Regions from separate parts of the Homo sapiens genome. Here all the other regions are linked to region 1. The links are contacts of gene promoters, found by promoter capture Hi-C in blood cells and fetal thymus (Javierre and others, 2016). All regions are on one chromosome and are shown on one strand. The core of a region is centred on a gene start or on the middle of the fragment in contact, and the rest is flanking DNA. Distances in the headings are between cores, read along the strand shown. Region 1 holds the start of ZNHIT1 (zinc finger HIT-type containing 1). Region 2 holds the start of SH2B2 (SH2B adaptor protein 2). Region 3 holds the start of ALKBH4 (alkB homolog 4, lysine demethylase). Region 4 holds the start of ORAI2 (ORAI calcium release-activated calcium modulator 2). Region 5 holds the start of ZNF3 (zinc finger protein 3).

Evidence for each region. Contacts are between HindIII fragments. The CHiCAGO score rates a contact against its expected background, and 5 or more counts as called.
Region 2: a contact is called between a fragment that was not itself captured here and the fragment with the promoter of ZNHIT1 in region 1, in 6 of 17 cell types (naive CD4 T cells, non-activated CD4 T cells, fetal thymus and 3 more). The highest score is 7.9, in naive CD4 T cells.
Region 3: the fragment with the promoter of ALKBH4 here is called in contact with the fragment with the promoter of ZNHIT1 in region 1 in 3 of 17 cell types (naive CD8 T cells, megakaryocytes and endothelial precursors); the score reaches 7.7 in naive CD8 T cells.
Region 4: a contact is called between the fragment with the promoter of ORAI2 here and the fragment with the promoter of ZNHIT1 in region 1, in 3 of 17 cell types (naive CD8 T cells, total CD4 T cells and non-activated CD4 T cells). The highest score is 7.3, in naive CD8 T cells.
Region 5: a fragment that was not itself captured here is called in contact with the fragment with the promoter of ZNHIT1 in region 1 in 1 of 17 cell types (fetal thymus); the score reaches 5.6 in fetal thymus.

What each region holds. Positions count from the first base shown.
Region 1 is chr7:101,216,875-101,219,627 of GRCh38, forward strand. ZNHIT1 (zinc finger HIT-type containing 1) reads left to right here and starts at 1,291. Exons shown (of 5, transcript NM_006349.3): 1 at 1,291-1,343. The coding sequence starts at 1,322. It overlaps PLOD3 (procollagen-lysine,2-oxoglutarate 5-dioxygenase 3), which reads right to left and starts at 707. Exons shown (of 19, transcript NM_001084.5): 1 at 292-707. The coding sequence starts at 400. RefSeq lists enhancers at 1-335, 884-1,003, 1,097-1,638 and silencers at 134-253, 314-363, 504-783. The HindIII fragment of the contact is 814 bases long and covers 1,170-1,983 here.
Region 2 is chr7:102,285,887-102,288,788 of GRCh38, forward strand. SH2B2 (SH2B adaptor protein 2) reads left to right here and starts at 982. Exons shown (of 9, transcript NM_001359228.2): 1 at 982-1,208. RefSeq lists silencers at 300-879, 950-1,489 and an enhancer at 2,640-2,729. The HindIII fragment of the contact is 4,125 bases long and covers 1-2,902 here.
Region 3 is chr7:102,463,353-102,466,112 of GRCh38, forward strand. ALKBH4 (alkB homolog 4, lysine demethylase) reads right to left here and starts at 1,511. Exons shown (of 3, transcript NM_017621.4): 1 at 1,362-1,511. The coding sequence starts at 1,484. LRWD1 (leucine rich repeats and WD repeat domain containing 1) reads left to right here and starts at 1,632. Exons shown (of 15, transcript NM_152892.3): 1 at 1,632-1,808; 2 at 2,465-2,699. The coding sequence starts at 1,729. It overlaps MIR5090 (microRNA 5090), which reads left to right and starts at 2,390; the gene lies at 2,390-2,474. RefSeq lists enhancers at 1,254-1,903, 2,033-2,559, 2,183-2,282, 2,560-2,760 and a silencer at 1,413-1,842. The HindIII fragment of the contact is 18,940 bases long and covers 1-2,760 here.
Region 4 is chr7:102,432,134-102,434,833 of GRCh38, forward strand. It overlaps ORAI2 (ORAI calcium release-activated calcium modulator 2), which reads left to right and starts at 1,442. Exons shown (of 4, transcript NM_001126340.3): 1 at 1,442-1,528. RefSeq lists silencers at 902-1,041, 1,072-1,851. The HindIII fragment of the contact is 6,966 bases long and covers 1-2,700 here.
Region 5 is chr7:100,079,322-100,082,160 of GRCh38, forward strand. ZNF3 (zinc finger protein 3) reads right to left here and starts at 2,402. Exons shown (of 6, transcript NM_032924.5): 1 at 2,314-2,402; 2 at 215-335. RefSeq lists enhancers at 2,341-2,490, 2,647-2,839 and a silencer at 2,731-2,810. The HindIII fragment of the contact is 2,766 bases long and covers 207-2,839 here.

The sequences.
Region 1 (2,753 bases), core at 41-2,540:
TCCCTTTCTTCCTTCCCATTCTTAAACTCTTCTCACCCAGGAACACTCTGACCCCAAGGAGGGCAGGGTGGGAGTGGTGCCCAGGAATTCCGAGTCCCTTTGCATAGGGAGGCTGGAAACCCCAGTTCAGGGTAGTGATGGGCGAGGGGCTTGGCGCGACTCAGCCTCAAGAGCACGCTGGGCGGGGGACGGGCCAGACACCTCCTCGAGCCTCCGACCCTCTCCGGGCCAGGCTGGCAGGCACGCCAGCCTCTGCCCCCTCGGCCGTGCCGGGCCTCCCCGGGATCTCACCTGGGTTGACCGGGTCTCGGCCCCGGGGCCGGTCGGAGGCTGAGGCCGCAGGGGGCAGCAGCAGCGGCAGCAGCAGCAGGAACCGGGGTCCAGGCCCCGAGGAGGTCATGGTGGGGAGCGGGCCCAGACAGCACCCAGGATCCTGGGATCTCCGCTACGCGCCTGGATCCCAGCTCCGGAGGGGAGCTCTGGAAAGGGGGCGCTCGGGCTGCTGTGCGGCCGCCGCGGGGAGCAGCTTGGCTGGGGCTACGCCCTGAAAAAAAGGCGTATCCGGAGGCTACAGAAAGCTCCAGATGCCGGCGCCACAGACAAGGCGAGGATTGTCCCGGGCGCACGGGAGGCGGGGGAGGGGCGGCGGCTCGGGCCGGCGGGCGGGAGACAGGGACTCTGGGCTGAGCCAGCCGCTTGACACATGTGGAAGCTGAAACCTGGACAGGGGAAGTGACCCCTGGCGGAGGGTCGGGCGGGACGCGGGGGCGGGTCCTGGCCGCAGCCCTGCCCAGAGAGTGCGGGCGGAAGACGGGGAGAGCGAGAGGCTGGCGGCGACAGGGAGGGAGGAAGCCTAGGAGTCCGCCGCGGGACGGAGGCCTGGGGGAACTGGGAGTTCAGCTTTCTGCAGAGGGCCACTAGGAACCTCGGATTGCCCACGGAAGCCAGCCACTTTCTTTGACAGTCCAGCCCACCTCCTCTTCTGCCCGGAGAAGCTCCAGGGGCTGCCTTTGTGATCACAGCATCTTCACAAGGACCAAAGGAAAATAAGATTTCTTGTAAGAACACCGTGACCACATCTTTAAAATGACCCATTTCGTGGCTCCCACAAGATTTACACCTCCACACTGAGGCCGGAAGTGGTTTTGCCCCTATAAAACATGGCGAAAAGCTTTCTTGTCTCCAAGGAAACGCCACGTAATGAGTCAAAGCTGTGGCGCACGCGCAGAAGTACAAGCTACCGGAAGTGATGGCGCCCCTACTAAAGCCTTGGGGTTAGTACGCGTGCGCAGCAGTTTCTTCCGACAGTTGTGTTGTGCCAATGGTGGAGAAGAAAACTTCGGGTATGTGAGCCCCCGCGGTTCGCCCCCTTCCCCTTCCCAAGTCAGTCCTAGAATTTTCTTACCTAGTCATTCCTCTTTTTTGGTCTCGCTCTTTCGCCTAGGCTGGAGTGCAGTGGCATAGTCATAGCTCACTGCAGCCTCGATTTCCTGGGATCAAACCATCCTCCCACCTCAGCCTCCGGAGTGGCTGGAACTGCAAGCATGAGGCCCCACGCCTGGTTAATTTTTAATTTGTTATGTGGTGACGGGCTCTCGCTATGTTGCCCAGGTTGGTCTCCAACTCTTGGCCTCAAAGCGATCCTCCTGCGTGGGCCTTCCAAAGTGCTGGGATTACAGGCGTGAGCTGCCGCGCCCGGCCCCAGCTATTCCTCGTAAATCCCTTCCTCAGCCCTCGGGTCCTGGCGTTGACCCTTCATTCACGTTTTATTGGTGCCTGCTCCAAGCCGGGCGCTGGGGATGAAGAGGAGAAAGACCCCTCTTATCCAAGCATTGGCTTTTTCTGGAAGGGGGGCAGAAACGCAGACCTAACACTGTATTTTACTGTGATTTGTGATTTGTGCTATGGCAGAGGGAAGCACAGCGCCTGGGAACAGGGAGACGTGGCATCTAGCCCAGGTTCTGGGAGGCAGGGGACTGTGAAAGCTTGAAGGAAAAATGAAAAAGCTTGAATTGAGTCTTGAAAGTCTAGTTAGGGTTTCTCTCAGTGGGAACCTCACGTGCAAAGGCAGTGAAGCAAGAAAAAGCAAGTCGCTTAGGAAGCCAAGTTCACAGTTTGGATCTTACAGAGTAATAAGAAAGGATCGAAGGCTGGGGAAAGGTTACATTTTGAAAGGCATTATACACACTGCCCAGGAGTTTGAACTCTGTAGGGAAACACTGGAGAGCCAGCAAAGACTTTTTTTTTTTAGACAGAGTCTTGCTCTGTCACCCAGGCTGGAATGCAGTGGTTCTATATAACTCACTGCAGCCTCAACCTCCCATGCTCAAGTGATTCTTCCACCTCAGCCACCTGAGTAGGTGGAACTACAGGTGGGTGCAGGCCACCATGCTGGGCTAGTTTTTATATTTTTTGTTGAGATGGGTGTCTCACTATGTTGCCCAGGCTGGTCTTGAACTCCTGAGCTCATGTGATCCTCCTGCCTCGGCCTTCCAAAATGCTAGGATTACAAGTATGAGCCACTGCGCTTGGCCCTTTTAGTTTTTCTTTCTTTCTTTTTTTTTCTTTTTGAGACGGAGTCTTGCTCTGTCCCCCAGGCTGGAGTGCAGTGGCGCAATCTCGGTTCACTGCAAGCTCTGCCTCCCGGGTTCACACCATTCTCTGGCCTCAGCTTCTGGAGTAGCTGGGACTACAGGCGCCCGCCACCACACCCAGCTTATCTTTTGTATTTTTAGTAGAGACAGGGTTTCACC
Region 2 (2,902 bases), core at 382-2,881, 1.1 Mb after region 1:
ACCTCTGCCCCCACCGAAGCCCTCCCTCCCCTCTCAGACCCCTTCCAGGCCTGCTGAGCCCCCTGCACCTCTTTCAGGAAGCCTCCCAGAGCCCCCGCGCTGTGCCCTCAGCACCAGGGGTCAGGCTACAAATGCCCCGCAAAGCCCAGCGGGACTGTTTCCTCAGCCCCACTGGTCTCTGCCCTAAAGCAGGCGAGTTCTGGAGCCAGGCAGGGGTGAGGAAGGTGCCAGGGTTGTGGCCCCTCATCGCCCCTCTATGATCTCTGACACCTCTCCGGGTGGCATCAGGCCCCCATCACAGCGAAGGCTGGGTGGTGGGGGCACTGCGCTCAGGGGGGCCGTCCCGCCCTGTGGCCCGGGGGCGATTTCCCGCACCGGAGGGCTGCAGGGAGGGGGCGTGGTGGCGCCCTCGAGATTTATGAGAACCAGGCGTCGACTTCCTCCGTTGCGACATCCAGGCCTCCTCCAGGCTCCCATTGTCCCTGCTGCGGAGAGTCTGGCCACAGCGGCGGCTCCCGCGAAGCACCCGTCAGCGAGGGGCGCTTCGAGGGCGTCCGCGTCCCATACACCCGCCACGCAGGACATTCCCCCGGCCCCACGCTCCGCGCTCCCGGGGCCACCACCACCGCGGGCTCGAGGGGTGGCCTCCACGAGGAGGAGTGGGAGTCCCGCGCCTGGCCTGGGGCCGGCTCGGCGACATGGGGACCCCCGCCCAGATGGGGCGACTCGGAGCCGGCTCCTAACCCCTCTCTCCGGGCCCCAGGACCGGGCAGTCTCGGCACCGCAGCTGCGGGGAGCCAGCAAGCACCGGCCACCGGCGCCGCTCGGGCTCCGCGGATGGCCGGGGGCGGGGCCTGAGCGGCGCAAGTGGGGGCGGGAGGGGGCGGGGCCAGGACGCGCGAGGGGGGGCGGGGCCGGGGCTCGCGGCGGGGGCGGGGGCGGGGCGGGGCCGGGAGGCGCGCGCCTCGCGGGCGGAGGGGCGCGCCGCGCTGGGGCTGGGCTTGGAGCGCGCGGAGCTCGGCTGCCAGAGAGCCGCGCGGGGGACGCGCCGGGACCGCGAGGAGCGCAGGAGCCTTCGAGGCGGTGAACGAGGGAGGGAGCCCAGTCCGCCGCGGGCCATGAGCCACCGGGCCCGGGGAGCCCGGCCGCGGTCCGGGCAGCGCTCAGCCGGCGCCCCAGCCCGCTCGGCCGCAGCTGCGCGCCTGTAGGTATGGCCTCCTTATACCCAGTTCCTCGCTCCCTGGTCCTTCCCCCGGGACCCCTGTCTGTCCCCGGGGACGTGCGCTGTGTGCGCACCGCTGCCCGAAGGAGAGCGGCCGCACGCGCCTTGGTCCGCGCGTGTCGTCTTTGTGTGCGCGGGTGGGAGGGAGGAGGGCGCGCGAGGGAGGGGAGGCGCCCCCGGCTGGGATCTGCTCCCCGATCCCCATCCCGGGCGGGGCGGGGAGCCGCTGGAGGGGCCGAGCCGCCTCTGGAGCAGCTGCGCCCCCGCCCCCTGCTAGGGCCCCGGCCGGGTAGTGGGGCGAGAGCAGCCGGGTCCTTAGAGGAGGGGTCTCTGGTTGGGGGAAGGGGTGCCCAGGTCTCTTCCCTACGCTGGGAGCGCTGGGAGGGGGCGTCAACCTAGAATGAGGGTGAGGGCCACGGGATGGGATCGGGGAGGACCTCCTCCAGGCCACAGGCACGCCCTCCCTTTGGCCCAGGCCCCCCTTTCTCGACCTGCCCAGCCGGGGAGCTCCCCGGAGCCCCCGATTGCCGGGAGGATCGTGGAGGGTGCCCAAGAGGCCGGCGCCTTTAAGAAGGGGCGGGTTCGTGCCCTCCATTCAGGCCCTTGGGCCTCGGCCATTGATGAACCTGCGGGCTGCGCGGGCCGGAACCGCGCCAGCCCAGCGGGCTGAAGCCGGGCAGAGGCAGGGACGCATCCTGGCCCCCTGCAGCCCCGAAGTGGGGGCCTTCAGGGAGGGAAGTCTGCAGTGACTGGAGCCTCTCAGGAGCCACGCAAGGCAGACCGGGCAGCCCCAGGCGAGACTCTGAACACGAATAAGCCAGGATCTACGTGCACTTCGAGCTAGTGCAAGGGAGAGCCTCAGGCTAGGCTGTCAGACCTGGGTGGAGCCCTACCAATGCCCCCGAGCCAACATCACCTACCCTGTAAAATGGGATGGTGCTGCCTGCCTCCTGGCTAAGGGACCGGCAACTCCCGGCAGGAATTGCGTCCCAGAGTCAGGTCCCTGGAGCTCCTCTGGGAGGACTGGGGGCAGGGGGTGTGGTTTCCCCAAGAGGTTTTGACTGCCTCTTGAGCTGAAGCCCCCACTACTGTGTCCCACCTTGAACTCTCCCAACCTCTTCCCTCCTGGCCTCCCCACTCCACGCAGGAAGAGGTTGGGAGAGTGACCTAGAACTTTTCAGCTCCAGGAGCTTTGGGAGAGGTCTGGTGGTGGCGGTGGTGGCACTTCTTTTAGGCTAGTGTGGATCAGGGCATTTTTGGGGGTCTCAGAGACAGTTTCCCACCAGCTACTTCCTTAGAGGTCTGTCCTACCAACATACAAGAACAGCCCCACCCCGTGGCAGGCCGGCTTCTGATGCTGCTTGGTTGAATGCTTCTAGGTAATCAAGGGTTAATGCACACGCTTTTCTTTTTACCCTTGTTGTGAAAAATCTGTCTGAAGTTTCTAAATCCCTCTTCCCTACTTAGCGTGAATCTCCTAGGGAGGACTTCTATACAAATACCCAGGGGTGGGCTTCCCTTGGGGGTCTTGGAAGTGGGATCTCCACCCAAGTGATCCTGGGCCTCCCAGGGCTGAGCTTTTGGTTTCAAACTTACTTGTGCCAAGCTAAGGGCATCAGGATCGCCGTTCGTGTCATCTTTACAACAATCCTGTGGGTTTAGTGCTATTATTATCCCCAC
Region 3 (2,760 bases), core at 261-2,760, 1.2 Mb after region 1:
GGAGTCTTGCTCTGTCACCTGAGCTGGAGTGCAGTGGTGCGATCTTGGCTCACTGCAACCTCTGCCTCCTGGGTTCAAGCGATTCTCCTGCCTCAGCCTCCCGAGTAGCTGGGATTACAGATGTGCCTCACCAAGCCCGGCAAGTTTTTGTAATTTTAGTAGAGGCAGGGTTTCGCCATGTTAGCCAGGCAGGTCTCAAACTCCTGACCTCAGGTGATCTGCCCACCTCAGCCTCCCAAAGTGCTGGGATTACAGGCGTGAGCCACTGAACCCGGCCCAGGTATCTTGATAGATGCTTGGTTTGCTTCCATCTTTGGGCTGTCATGAATAATGTCGTGAATATGAACATGGGTGTGCAAATATCTCTTCCAGACCCTGCTTTTAGTTCCTTTGGATATATACCCAGAAGCAGGATTGCGGATCATGGGTAATTCTATGTTTAATTCATGAGGCATGCCATGCTGTTTCCATAGGACCTTGGGCACTTTTACCATGGACGTTGGGGCAGTCTTCACTGGCTTACCAGCCTCCACACCTTCATATCTGCCCGTTCCCTTCCCAGGATCTTTCTAAAATTCACATTTGACTTCATCACTCCTTTAAAACCCTTCAAGAGCTCTCCAGGGCCTTTGGGACAAGTCCAGCCTGCTCAGCTGATGCACCGGGGAGCATCTGTGATCAGACCTCCCCCCCCCCACAACCTCTCCAGCCTCATCTCTCTCACCTGAGGCATCACCAATCCACCTTCCTACCCCACGCAGTTTTCTGGGTTGGAATGCCCTTGCAACCAACCACAGTCCTTCCATGCCAGCCCAAAGGCGCTGAGTTCTTTTTCTTTTTTTATTTATTTTCTTTTTGTGAGACAGAGTCTCGCTCTGTCGCCCAGGCTGAAGTGAGGTGGCTCGATCATAGCTCACTGCAGCCTCCAGCTCCTGGGTTGCAGCGATCCTTGAGTTCCTTTTCGTTAGTTAACTGGAATTCACTGTCTCCTTGCCCATTGCAGTCCACGGCCTTCAGGCACCGTTGGACTGGTATTCAGCACCCTCGATCGACCCTTTCCGTGTCATCTCCCTGCAGGCCCGTGAAGCTCCCAGCGCCAGACCCGAGAGGCTACGTCGAGGTTTACAGGCAGATCCCCCCAGAGTCCCCGAGGTGACCTGTAATCGAACCCACCCACGTTCCAGCTCCTTCCCCACTCCCAAGCCCGCTCCTTAAAGCCCTCATCTCCTCACCCTGCATCACCCCTACCGTAAGGGTCCCTCACAGGCTTCGATCCCGGCCCCTATCATGGCCAAGCTGGACCTCAGTTTCCCCAGATGCAGAGCGACGTTTGTGGGCGCGGCCCCTCTCCCACCCCTTACCGCTGGGGGCAGCTCCCAGGGCGGGTCACTGCCGCGCTGCCGCTCGCAGATCAGACAGGTCCGGATGCCCTTGCAACCGCATTCCCGAAGGACTTCGGGGGTCTCGGCGGCAGCCGCCGCCATCGCGCCGTCCGCGTGGCCAGTGCGCAGGCGCGGCCGTGGGGGCCGCTGGGAGTTGTAGTCCGCGCCGGGCGGGGGCACGAGGCCTGGGTTCCGCTTCCTTCCGGTCGTTAACGCCCACGGGCTCGCGCGGCGCCGCCTCCTGGGCTCAGTTACCGCGGACGCCAGTGCCGGGCTCCAGGAGACGCAGGGCGACGCCACACGCCGGGGTGGCCGACTGGGTCAGCGCGGGCTGCGCCTCCTCGCCATGGGCCCCCTCTCGGCGCGGCTGCTAATGCAGCGCGGGCGCCCCAAGAGCGACCGGCTGGGGAAGATCCGGAGTCTGGAGTAAGAGCCGGGCAGCGGGTGAGGCTGTGTCCTCGGGGCCGGGCGGTCGGGGAGAAGAGCGGGGACCCTCCCCAACGGCCCGCTTGTCCCCGTTATCGCCCTCTGGGTTCGGCAGAGTGGTCCAAATGTCTTCTTGTTGGGAGATCGTGGCCCCACCCGCTCGCCGGGAGCCCCGAGGGGCCTCATCCCCTGAAGGGAGCCCGGACAGTTAGGGGCACAGCCTGCCGCTATCGTTAGAGGGCCTGGGAAGCACAGACGAGCCCCCGAAGGATCAGGAAGAGCATCCTAGAGGGGGCTAGGATGCCCCCGAGTCCTAAAGTAGTTGCAGCTTTTTTTTTTTTTTTTTTTTTTTTTTTTTTTTTTTTGTTAAGTGGTGTGGAGTCGGGAGTAGTGGCGCGCGCTTCTAGTCCCAGCTACTCGAGAGGCTGAGGCGGGAGGATCCCTCAGCCCAGGAGTTGGAGGCAGCTGTGAGCTATGATCGCGCCTAGGCGACTGAGTGACACCCCGTCTCTAAAAATAAAGTAACGGGGGGATGGGCGGGGCGGCTACACTTGTACGAGAAATGTCAGGTGAAAAAGCCTTCTGAGGTACCCGGGGCAGATTGGTGTAGGGTGCAAAGCCTGCCCGCCCCCTAAGCCTTCTGCCCCCAACTCCAGCCTGTCAGGATTGGAGCTGCTTTCCGAGCACCTGGACCCCAAACTCCTGTGCCGCCTGACGCAGCTGCAGGAGCTTGACCTGTCTAACAACCACCTGGAGACGCTGCCGGACAACCTGGGCCTGTCCCACCTGCGTGTCCTCCGCTGCGCCAACAACCAGCTGGGGGATGTTACTGCCTTGTGCCAGTTCCCCAAGCTCGAGGAACTCAGCCTGGAGGGCAACCCCTTCCTGACGGTAAGTGGGAGCCTCCCACCAGCTTCATACCTGGGGCCAGGACTCTGTTGGGCTCAGGCTC
Region 4 (2,700 bases), core at 192-2,691, 1.2 Mb after region 1:
GCTGGGTCTGTGAGTGGCAGTGCACTCTGGGTGGCAACCCCCAATTAGCTCAGTGCAAGCTCTTCATGGTGCCATCCAACACCCTGGGCAGGGGCCAAGCAAGGTGGCCCATGCCTCTATGCCCAGCACTTTGGGAGGCTGAGGTGGGAGGATCACTTGAGCCCAGGAGTTCGAGACCAGCAGAGGCAACATAGCAAGACCCATCTCAATTTTTTTAAAAAATTTAAAAATTAGCTGGACATTGTGGCACATGCCTGTAATCCCAGTGCTTTGAGAGGCTAAGAGAGGATTGCTTGAGGCCAGGAGTTTAAGACCAGTCTGGGCAATACAGGAAGACTCTATCTCTAAAAAAAGAATTTTTTTTTTTTTTTTTGGCTGGGCACAGTGGCTCACATGTATCATCCCAGCACTTTGGGAGGCCGAGGCAGGCAGGATCACCTGAGGTCAGGAGTTCAAGACCAGTCCGGCCAACATGGTGAAACCCCATCTCTACTAAACATACAAAAAAGTAGCCAGGCTAGTGGCGTGCACCTGTAGCTCGGAGGCTGAGACAGGAGAATCGTTTCAACCCCGGGGTCGGGGGTTGCAGTGAGCCAAGATGGCACCACTGCACTCCAGCCTGGGTGACAGGGCAAAACTCCCTCTCAAAAAACAAACAAAAACAAATTTTTTAAAAACTACCACGGTGTGGTGGCTCCTGCCTACATGTAGCCTCAGCACTTTGGGTGACTGAGGGCAGAGGATCACTCGAGCTCAGGAATTCGAGGCTGCATTGAACCGTGATCGCACCACTGCAGTCCAGCCTGGGCGACAGAGCCAGACCCTGTCTCAAAAAAATAAAAAAAAAAATCCTGTGAAAACTCGGGCGTGGCCAGACGGATTCTCCCCTCCCCACCTTCCTTTCCCCTCCACTGCCCACCTGCACCCGCCCGCCCTGTCCCCACTCCCCGCCCCTCTACGCAGCCAGCGTCCAATGCTGGGCACCCCCCGAGGCTCACCCTGCCAAGCCTGGGGCTCCCCTTTTGCGCCCGGACCCAGGGGCAGGGAAAGCCCAGCTCGTGGTCTGTGGGTAGCCGGACCCCCGATGGGGCGGTGGGGGGCCTCGCCTTGACTCCCAGAGCTGGGGCCGGGGACAGGAGCTGGGGCAGGAGGGATGCGCGCGGGTCGGGGTCTTCCCACCTCCCCTGCTCCTCTCCCTCGCGCGATCCCGGGGTGGTTCCAGGTGAGGCGGGGACCCCCACCCCCCCACTCTCCGAGGAGGCGCCGCCAGCCCCGCCCCTCCCGGCCCGGCGGGTGACGTGGCCGCGGCTCTCCCGCGGGTGGGTCACGTGTTGGCGGCGCCTGGTTGCCTTGGCAGCGGCTGCGGCGGCCGCGGGGGCGGGGTGGAGGCGGGGCCGGGGGACCCCGCGCGACCGGCGGAAGGAGGGAGGGGGCCGCGCTCGGCGCCCCGGCCGGGCCACTGGGCCACAGGCCACGCGGCCACGCAGTCCGAGCGGGAGCCGAGCCGGGCGGGGCGAGGGCAGCTCCGGTGAGTGTGGCGGCGCGGGGGCCTGGCGCGGGGAGCGGGGTCCCTGCGGCTGGGGGGGCCGGAATTGGACCGGGGACGCTCGGCGGGGAAGGGGACGACTGTAGGCTGCCCGGGCGCGGTCACTACCCATCCGGGGTTGGTGACCTCCACCCCGCGGGATCCCTGGCGGGGTGCGGCGCCCAGAGGATCAGGGTCGGCGGCGCAGCCGGTTCCGGACACCGGGGCGTCCCTGGGGGAGGGACAGGGATGCAGCCTAGCGCCCCTGGGAGGCCCCCTCCCAGTGCGCCTGCTGGAGAGAGACACTCGCCATTGCCGGTGCCCCAGATGCTTAGAGGAAGTCAAACTCCAAGACCGCCCTCTGGAAATGTGTCCAGTAGGCCAGCCAGGAAGAAAAGCTCATCTCTAGAGAGGGGATCGCGTTATTCTACAAGACCTGTTTTCTCGGACTGCTCATTAAAGCAAAAAAAAAAAAAAAAAAAAAAAAGCAACCCCACAAGGTTCAGTCCCGGAGCATCCTCTAGGGTCTGTGCCACCTGACAGAAGTACAGGGCTCCATCCTGCCCCACCCCACCCCCTGCCTGGGATCCAGTGTGAGGCCCAGACTCTGTCCCTCCCCCTGGGCCACCGGGCCTGGCACACACAGTTGGCATTGGGAACATAAAGGATGGATTTGAACCCCCTCCTGGGCTGCTCCTTCGAGACCTGGAGACCTGTCTCAAGACCCAGCTCCAGGCAGACAGACATCGTTTCCTCCACAATCCCACCCACTCTGGGGACATCTGCAGGGCCTCACCGATGGGGCATGGGAGGCCTGGCGGCTCCCAGGAAGCCACCCTCAGCCCTCACTGCCCTGAGCTCTTCACCTCCACTCTCAGACCTGAGCCCAGCCCACCCTTACTGATGGGGCATCCCTCTTGTTCACCCTTCCTTCCTTTGGAGGCCACCAGGCTCTCCCTTGCGTCCCACTCCTGCCAGTCGGCCAGCCATTTCCCTGGGTTGAACTGTGGTCCCAAACCAGAATGATCTAGCAGTGCCCAGACCGTTCCACTCACCAATTTCTTCCATTCTCCTGTGGCTGGACGCCCAGTCATGCTGCCCAGACCCTCTGGCTCATTCCACAGCCCCAGGCTCCAAGTGTCTTCCACCCACATCTCCCTGCCCCCTCCACCCCC
Region 5 (2,839 bases), core at 340-2,839, 1.1 Mb before region 1:
TGGAACTCAAAGGCATATTGTTGAGAACAAGCACCCAGTGTCCAGATCAGTAAACAGCGTTTCTCACAGAAAGAAAACTCTCCATTGTGCCCCCATGGCTTCAGGTCCAGACAGGGCCCTTCCCCTGCTCTGTTGCCAGCCTCACTCCCTGGTGCTGCCCGTGGGGACCGAGATAGATGGCCTGGCAGTAAGAACAAGACACGGAAAGCTTTACCTGCCTGATTCTTTCCTTCCTTCTTTGAAGTCAGTCCCTAGAAGGCCAAAGGAGCAATTACTGGGAATTTAGCAGCCTCTGTTCAAGTTCCCGGGAATTCTGACTTTTGTTGATGCCAATGCTGTGTGATTAAGGGGAAAAAAAGGAATTTAAAATATTCATGCAAACGTCTTTTTTTTTCCATGAGACAGGGTCTGACTCTGCTGCTCAGGCTGGAGTGCAGTGAGTTTGAGCTCACTCCAGACTCAAACTCCTAAGTTCAAGTGATCCTCCCAGCTCAGCCTCCCAAGGAGCTGGGACTAAAGGTGTGCACTGCCACATCTGGCTGAGTTTTTTAAAATTCTTTTTGTAGAAATGCAGCCTCACTGTGTTGCTCAGGCTGGTCTCAATCTCCTGGCCTCAAGTGATTCTCCCACCTCAGCCTCCCAAAGTGCTGGGATTACAGGCATGAGCCACCGAGTCCAGCCTAAACTTCATTTCTAATCAAGACATTTAAAGAAAAGGAAAAAAAAGAGAATACTTATTATATGCTAATAAATACCAATTAAGACCACCACCACAACTAGTATTTGCGTTGCACCCGTGGAGAGATGAAAGGGAATGGTAGGTTCTCAGGTCCACCTCCACCCAGGGTAAGAAAGTTCTAACGTTCTGTCAGCTAACTTGCTAGACACTGTGCTCCGAACTACTTCAGCAGGGGATCCACATTGCACAGCTGAGCCATTAGAAGTCTTCAGGTGATTCGCTGAAAATCTATCTCCTTGGACCTTCACCGCACAGAGACCTAGTGCATCACAGAAATTCAATGACTGGCGACCTGCAGTGGCTCACGCCTGTAACCCCAGCACTTTAGGAGGCTGAGGTGGGAGGATTACTTGAGCCCAGGAGTTCCAGGCTATGGTGAGCCATGATGGCACCACGGCACTCCAGCCGGGGGCAACAGAGCAAGACCTTAATACACACACAAACATTTTAAAAGGAAAAAAAAAAAAAAGGCCGGGCGCGGTGGCTAACGCCTGTAATCCCAACACTTTGGGAGGCCAAGGCAGGTGGATCACTTGAGGCCAGGAGTTGCAGACCAGCCTGGCCAAAAGGGCGGAACCCCGTCTCTACTAAAAATACAAAAAATTCGCCGGAGGTGGTGGCGGGCGCCTGTAGTCCCAACCACTCGGGAGGCTGAAGCAGGAGAAGCGCTTGAACCGGGAGGCGGAGGTTGCAGTGAGCCGAGATCGCGCCACTGCACTCCAGAGACAGTCTCAAAAATAAATAAAAATTAATTTTTTTAAAAAAAGAGCTTCAATAACAGAATCTTCTCCTTCCACCCGACTGTCCATCAAACACGTATAATCAAATGATGCCCACTCTCCACAGATGTCTTTTCTGGAGAAAATAATACGCTCGTTCCTCTAATTAGCCCATCGGTTTCAGGTTCATCACTCTGCTATCTTCTCCTGGAGTTTACAAAAGCCCTTCAGAGTGTAAACACCGATGTGGATTCAATCCCACTTCCGGAGAGAGGATCAAACCAGGAATCTAATACAACTGAAAACGGAGCCTGAGCCAGGTGTATCACGCGATGCACTGGGCTCCAGCAGGATTACCCCTGGAATCGGCGTCTGCACCCACTCCCAGCCCTCGTGCTAACTGCGTACGCTTAGCAGAATTTCTCTGATCCTTGGACCCAGCTGCGTAAAAATAAACTTCCTCTCCTGCCACGGGCGCGAATAACTGTGTTAACATCAAATAAAAACGTCTGGGAGAAATACCAAGTTAGGGTCGCTGTCATTAGCTGCTTTCAAGAGAGAGGCGCCCCTACCGCTCTGCTGAAACTTTTAAACGCTCCAGCTGGGTCGCCGTTAAAGTCACAAAACCAGAACCGGAGCCCCATTACTAACCCCTACGCAGGATCCCGCTAGGCTAGGGGGATCCCTGGGGAAGCGGAGTAGAGGACGGGCTGCAGGGGACGGAGGGGCGCCTCCCCGAACCCTGCTCCGGGCCGGCCGGGGGACCCTGCGGGCCGCAGTGGCACAGACACCACCCCCTTCCCCGGCGACCACAGCCTCCGTCTCACCGCGAGACCCGGGGACGCGTGGACTCACCCTGGGGGCAGGGACGACAGATTTGGGGGACCGGACACGGACCAGGCCCTGTTGGACCCTGTCACAGACCCACACACCGGGGACAGAACAAAGAACGGAAGTTCCCCCTCGTTTCGCTTCCGGGTCGGTTGTTCTTGCCACTCACCCGTACCCCCAACGCCCACTTGTTCTGTCTAGGAAAATGGGAGGTCCTCGCCTCTCTGTGGTTTGCTGACTCAGGGCGGCTGGCAGGCGGCGAGGGCAAGGAGCGCGATCGCTGACGCGGCACTCGGGGATCTTTCGCTGCGGGGGCTGGCCGGCTGCGCCCTCTGCTGGCCACGAATGTGCGAAAGCGGCCGACCACGGTCCTGGGCCTCAGGACATGTGCTCCAGCGTCGCCGGCCTTGGGGGCGGGCGGCGGGGGCGCGCGGGGATGTCGAGCCCGCGCTTCTCAGGCTGGCTCGCGAAGGGCAGCAGTAAACATACAATTATTGAAGGATTCATCAATATTAAAAAATGAACCCTGATTTAAAACTTGCCTCCGAAC